Regions from separate parts of the Homo sapiens genome. Here region 1 is linked to region 2. Evidence: promoter capture Hi-C in human tissues and cell types (Jung and others, 2019). All regions are on one chromosome and are shown on one strand. The core of a region is centred on a gene start or on the middle of the fragment in contact, and the rest is flanking DNA. Distances in the headings are between cores, read along the strand shown. Region 1 has its middle 120 kb from the start of NABP1. Region 2 holds the start of MYO1B (myosin IB).

What was found. Contacts are between HindIII fragments. The study calls those that stand out against the background at their distance.
Region 1: a fragment that was not itself captured here is called in contact with the fragment with the promoter of MYO1B in region 2 in 1 of the 25 tissues and cell types used here (spleen).

Annotation. Positions count from the first base shown.
Region 1 is chr2:191,552,901-191,556,376 of GRCh38, reverse strand. No RefSeq gene overlaps it. Among named protein-coding and RNA genes, the nearest start is that of NABP1, 120 kb to the left of the region's middle. The HindIII fragment of the contact is 3,966 bases long and covers 1-3,476 here.
Region 2 is chr2:191,243,674-191,247,219 of GRCh38, reverse strand. MYO1B (myosin IB) reads right to left here and starts at 1,816. Exons shown (of 31, transcript NM_001130158.3): 1 at 1,594-1,816. It overlaps MYO1B-AS1 (MYO1B antisense RNA 1), which reads left to right and starts at 1,045. Exons shown (of 4, transcript NR_186085.1): 1 at 1,045-1,301; 2 at 3,147-3,546. RefSeq lists a silencer at 1,506-1,895 and an enhancer at 1,308-1,930. The HindIII fragment of the contact is 14,933 bases long and covers 1-3,546 here.

The sequences.
Region 1 (3,476 bases), core at 323-2,822, 310 kb before region 2:
TTATGAAGGCAACAAGTATAGAGCAACGTCCCACTAATAAATATTTCCCCTGACACTTTACATGACTTAAAATTTGTCATTTACTTCAGGTTCATATTATCTTAGAAAAATAAGTGTTCTGGCTTGGCACAGTGGCTCACGCCTGTAATCCCACTGCTTGAGGGGCTGAGGCAGGAGGATCGCTTGAGCCTAAGAGTTCAAGACCAGCCAGGACAACACAGAGAAACCCTGACTCTACAAGGAATACAAAAATAAGTTGGGCGTGATGGTGCATGCCTGTTGTCCCAGCTACTTGGGAGGCTGAAGTAGGAAGATCACTTGAACCCAGAAGCTCAAAGCTGCAGTGAGCCACGATCACGCCACTGCACTCTGGCCTGGACCACAGAGTGAGACCCTGTCTCAAAAGAAAAAAGAGAAATAAGCATTCTGTCCCCTCTTCAGAGCATGATTCTCTCTCTGATTAAGACTCCTCTAATTTCAAGAAGCTCCTCCTGATTATTCAAGATGGTTCAAATTTAGAAGGCACCCTTGATCCTCTTACTTTTTTGTGACTAGCACAAGTACTGGGCCATAAAACAGAGGGTCCTCAAAGAATAACCATATTCCCTCACCATCAAAATCCTGCCATTTGGCTGATCAATCCCACCCCACACACACCAAAGCATGCTGTGGTTCAACTCCAAGACTTTTGACTAGTGTCTGATACTTTTAAATGCCTCTGTTACCTACTTCTCTGAGACATCAGACAAGTCTGAACCTATCCCAACTTGAGTTTCCCCCACGGTAAATTAGAGGCATTGGTATCCATCCCACAAGGTTGTACTGATAATCAAATGAGATAACATACAAAGTGCCCAGCACATTGTAGATGTTACAACTTCCTTTCTTCCCTTCAATAGATGAAATTTATTGTGTGAACAACGAAGTGTTCTTAATATGTTTGTTATTTTTTCTCCGTTTAAACATCTGTAGTTGTCAGAACTTTTGAGAAAGGTTCTTTCATGTCTAAACGTCCACGATTCTATGGCCAGTACGCTAATTAAAGGAGAACCATCCTAGTTCAGCCTCTCCCAGGTTAGACCAAAAAGTGGATTGCTGCTGCCACCTGGTGGCTACAAGATAATTTGAGGCAGCATTTCGCGGAAGCTTGTGAGTGCTAAACACCCAACCCCCACACACAATTAGAGGGAGCCTGGGAAAGTGAGGACGCCCCCACTTGTTTTCTTTTCTTTTCTTTTTTTTTTTTTTTTTTGAGACAGGGTCTCGCTTTGTCACCCAGGCTGGAGTACAGGGGCACAATCTCAGCTCACGGCAACCTCTGCCTCCCAGATTCAAGCGATTCTCGTGCCTCAGCCACCCCAGTAGTTGGGATTACAGGCACGCGCCACCACGCCTGGCTAATTTTTGTATTTTTAGTAGAGACAGGGATCTCAGTATGTTGTCCAGGCTGGTCTCGAACTCCCAGGCTCAAGCGATCCTCTTGCCTCAGCCTCTCAAAGTGCTGGGATTACAGGCACGAGCCACTGCGCCGGGACGACCCCAATTATTTTCTAAACGAGTGTCGGTGACAGGTGAAGAACACACACTGGTTTGTTTCCATCTTTGGGAATGTAAATCAAGGTCAAGACTGACCTTGAACAAAAATGTAAAGTTGGCAAATGCCGACTTCAAGGCTCTGAGATTCTTTCCTGTGCCTCTCCTCCACACGTTCTTTGGCTTCCCTAGTCCTCAGGACATTTATTCTACTTGTTCTTCCTCAAATCAAAAGCTGTTCAGAAAATTTTTTTTGATAAAATGATTCACTCTAGGTATAAGTAACTAAGATAATTAATGGAGAGGCCATTAGGCTGAGCCAGCTCCAGGGCCCTGGATTCCTACAGAAGCAAACCGAAACCCAAGTATCAATGGTCATATTCTAGGAAAATGCAACTTCAGCTTTAAAACTCAGGAGCCACCAATTAACCCTTTTAAAGCCTTCTCTTGCCCTCTTGGTGGAGCCTCGAGCCACCTGAAGTCTGATGCTACCTGATTTATGAATCGTTTGCTCAAATAAACTCCTTAATATTCTAATGTGCCTCAGTTTATCTTTTAACATTAATGAGGCTTAATATGACTTCTCTCTGTAATGTTTGCATTTTTAATTACTCTATTTTTGAATAGAAGAATTATGTGTGTATGACACATATTATAAAAGGTCTTCCTAGCAGCTACCCAGAATATTCATACAACTATTCCTTTTTATGGTTTAAAAAAGGCACATGCTATACCAGCTGTTCTGCACCTTGTTCTTTTTACCCAATGTCTTGTTTTTGTTTGTTTTGGTTGGTTTTGTTTGGTTGATTCCTTTTTCTTCTTGATCAGGTTCATCATATTCAAACCTAATGTATTTTGCATGTTATGCCATTGTATTTGCACTTTCACAGAAATATAAACTCCGTCTTCCTCAGGTAAAAAGAATAAATCTTTCTTTGTGGAAGTTGAGGAATCTTCAAGCAGAGATAGAGGAAGTTTCAGGTGGTGGATTTCAAGCTTTAAAGAGGATGTGGATCACCTGCAGAGCTCGCAAAACGAAGTGAAGTCCTATTTCTGATTCAATAGGTCTGGGGTGGAGCTGGAAACCAAATATTTAATAAGGAAAGTGAGTACCCCTAATGCAAGCTCTGTGATCATACTTTGAGAATCACTATATAAAGGCAGAAACTATCAGCCCCGGTTGCATATGAGAGTCACCTGGGGGACTAAAAAAATTCTGATTCTGACTAGCTTGGTCTGGGTCCCCAAGTGAATCTAATATGTCACCAAGATTGAGAATGCAGCAATTCTTAAACTTGGCTGCTTACTGGAATCATTTAGGCATCATTAAAAAATACTGATACCTGGGTCACACCTGCCCCCAACAAAGATAATGCTGTAACTGGTGTGGAGTATGGCTGGAGTACAAGGAGCTTCCAGAGCTCCCCGTGATTCAAACAAGCAACTGAGGCTGAGAGACTGTGGTTTAAGCAGATAGGCTTACTGAGAATTCCAGAGTCAAGTCAGGTGAAGCTGACAGATCCAGGAATGTGTTTGTCTTCGCGCCACTCTATTACAGACACAGGAAAGCAGGAGAAAGACAACGTGTGGTCCTCTGTTCTTTGTTAATAAACAGTTTGTGCTGATCAAATAATTTGTCGAATCAGGACTTATTTTTTGTCATTAGTATGGAAGGAAGAGAATGACAGCTAACTGTCCATTCTTGATCAATAAGATTGATCAAATGAGTTAAATCTGAAGAGAGGACCAAGCCACATTTCCACATTAAAAAAAAAAAAAAGATTCTGGCCAGTTGCTCACATGAAGGATAGTTCCTGTGTTCTGGCTCAGTGCATTCTCTATCTTTTTTGTTTTTTGTTTTGTTTTAGACAAGAGTCTCACTCTGTTGCTCAGGCTGGAGTGCAGTGGCACGACCTCAGCTCACTGCAACCTCCGCCTCCCGG
Region 2 (3,546 bases), core at 567-3,066:
AACAGAATGTCTCCTAAATTATCACCACAGTAATGCTAACCTTCAGTCCGACTTTGGGAATCCTCCCACCAGTGTCCCACAGGCACAAACCATGAATGCCTGGAAATGTCAGCCTCCTCCCAAAACAGTTTTGCTTGGAATACCCCATTCAAAAAACACACATCATTCAATCCCCCATAGCTCCCTCCCTAGGTCAGCCAATCCTTTGGCGAGTCTCGATTCCAATCTAGGAAAGGTCACTTAACAAATGTCTGACACATTACATTTAATTCTACCACCTCTAAACGATCCTCACACAGAGAGTGAAAGCACAGAACACTTCAATGCCAGGGCTCCTCAGTTCAAACCCCAAACGCTGGTGTGTGTGGTGTGTTTCCTGGGACAGACTGTAAAAGGGTTTTTCAATTGTGTTACATAGTCTGATTCATTTATTTATAGCAATGTCTAATTTTCTGGTGGTTTCTGCCCTCAAACAGTCCTGGAAAACTGTTGTACTATATTATACTATAAAACAATTTTACGTCAAAATTGATTCTATAAAATTTGTCTCCTACCCATTCCAGCCAATATCCACTAGCTACACACACAGACCCAGAGGCACACACATACACACCAATACCATAGTTCATAGCAAAATTTTTTCAAATCTCAAAAAAAAAGGGGGGGGGGCTTCTTTCACTGTAACTAAGAAGATTTGCTTTGAGCAATCTAACATTGGGAACGCCTAGAAACTCAAGAAGCACACAACTTGTTGCAGCAATAAACGCTGGGCCGAAGCCTGAACAAAGCACTACAAATAAGCTCTAGAAACTCACATGGCCCTTGAACAAAATGTTGTGTGTTTGTAGTTACCTCTCCAGCGCGCTCTCATCACCCTCTCCCAACCCTCTCCCCAACTCTCTTCCCGGCCCCACCACCCTTCGTAGCTCCCGTCTCTAATCTGGTTTCCATTCCAGCCCCGCCCCCTTCCCCTTCCCTCTCTGGGACCGTGAATCAATCCCATCCCGGGCAGGAAACGAGACCCAGGGCAACCCCCTCCGCTGCGGCGGAACAAAGGAGGCGAGCGCAGCTGCACGCGCAGGGAGGCCCACAGCGTCCCGGGCCCCTCCTCCCCCGCCGCCGCCGGGGCACACCGCACCTGAACCCCACTCCCCAGGACGCCCCATTGTTCTCCCTCCGCTTTCCTGCCCGGAGGAAGCCACACCGTGTCTTTCCAGGGGGCCAGGAAACAGCTGTGGGCCAGAGGAATGGAGGGGCTGTGGGTGAACACGAGGACAGCCGAGATTCGACTCTGCCCACAGGTACGAGAGGCATGGGGCAAAGTAAGAGCAACTTAGTTTACAAGCCCTTCTTCCCTCCCGCCACCCCCGAAGCCACTGCGGAGTCACGACCACCCTCCGCAACCTACAGCGTGCGCCGTTCCCGCCGCAGCGCCGCGTCTCCCAAGAGAGCGGCAGAGCCCGCTGACCCCCGCCCGCAGGGTGCGACGGGGCCAGGGACCGCGGGCACAAAGGCGCGGAGCAGGCGCCTCGGGGGCCGACGACGGACGCAGAGGGAAGGGCAGGGGAGAGAGAGAGAAAGCGCTCGCGCTACCTCGCCTGGCGCTACCTCGCCGGGCGCCACTCCGCCTCCACGTCGTCCTCGCTCTCCGGTGGCGCTCCGGGACGCGGGCCCAGCCCGGGGCTGCGGGGCTCCCGCCGCGGCTGTTCTGCCAAGGCTGTCCCGCGGCTGCCGGCCGACTGCGCGCCGCGCGCTCTGGTACTGCCTCCACGCGCCGCGGTTGAGGCTCCCGTGCGCACCCAGCTGCGGAGTGCTCAGCGGCGGCGGGAGGAGCCCGGCCACTCCCCTCTCGCCCGCTGGCGGAGGGGCCGGCCGAGGGGCGGGGGCGGCGACCTCGCTGCCTGGGATTCGCCCCTCGGCGCGCGGGCAGGAACGGGAGCCACCGCCTCCGAGCCGACTCACCTCTGTCCGCCCGGTGCCGGCTTCACAGCGCCCCCCGGTGAGCGTCGCGGCGGCCTCCGCGCCTTGCGGGTTTGCGGCCCGACCCTCCGCACCCGGGGCGAGCCTGGATGGGACGAGGCTTGAGGGAAGGAGGGGCGATCGTCGCGGCCCCCACGGAAGGCAGTCTTTCTACCTTTTTTGCTTCCAGACTCACTGACATAAAATGAGAAATACAACATTTGACAACTCGAAGCCAGCCTGGGGTCACATTCCGGCAAACAGTGGGAGTAAGTCTCAATTTTTCCTCCTCCCCAAGATGAAAATTTTTGGATGCCGAGAATATCAGAAAATATTAGTTTCACAGAAAAAGAAAAAAATTATACTGAGTGGTGTGGTGTGTCTTCATTTACAAGACTTTTAGTATCTTTTAAATTACTTAATCTCACATTGTGGGAAATAGACACTGGCCAATTCTTTGTGTTATAAATACATGAGAGGTAGTTTAAAAGAAATTTCAAATACCCATACGTATTTGAATAGAGTGTATTAACAGGTCCTGAGTAATGATCAGTGATGGGGTATATTATACAGGCATGTAGGGGCCAGAGAATCAGGACACCCCCCCTACACACACACACACACCTTCTCACTCAAGCCCTATTGCCTCATTGGAGAATTTAGAACAATCCTCTTGACCCAGGTCCTGGTTTCTTCATCCTCGCACAGGGAAGGGTGCGCATTCAAACTTACTCACTGGGTGAGATGAGGATTACTTGGCTGAGGTGTTAAAAGCACTGTAGACACAGTAATTATTACTCATGGTTCTAACTACTTTATCCTATAATGAAATAAATTGCCATAAATGGGCCAGGTTTAAATGGACTGACCTGTATCTGGAAACTGTCACTAAAGTGAGGTGAACCAAAGAATTCAGACCATATATAGTAACTGTTCCCACTGGCATAAGAACCACAGGCGCTGGGATTTGTTAAATGCCACTAGTAGAGTTTGGAAAGGTGGGACCTTCACAGACTATATCTGCTGGGAACTGTCTCATCATTGATGTCACCATCAGCATCACTTCAGATGTACAAGTGGTGTGATAATGGGCGAAACTAACACATACTGGGTACCAGGGACTGTTCTTTGTTTAATCCTCACAAAAAGCTCTGAGGTAAGTTTCTCTCATTATCCTTGTTTTACAGACCAGCAAAGCCAAGGACAGAGAGGTCTTCAGGGAATACATGGCTATGGTGGTTTGAAGACTCCCATTAGAGAGTGGATATTAATTGCCCTCCTTTTGAATATGGTCTGGACTTAGTGATTTGATTGTAACAAATAGAATACAGCAGATGTGATGCTATGTGACTTCCAAACCTAGGTCATAAAAGGAGATGAAGTTTTCACCTGGCTCTCCCTTGGGACACTCACCCTTGGAACCCAGCTGCCATATTGTGAGGAAGCTCAAGCCACAGGGAAGGCCATGTGTAGGTGTTTGGGCTGATGGTGCCAGCTGAGGACCTGGTCTACTGCCAGTACAACTTATATCAAGCATGTGAGTTGGCGAGCTTTTGAAAGAACTCCAGCCACAGTCACTGACCACGC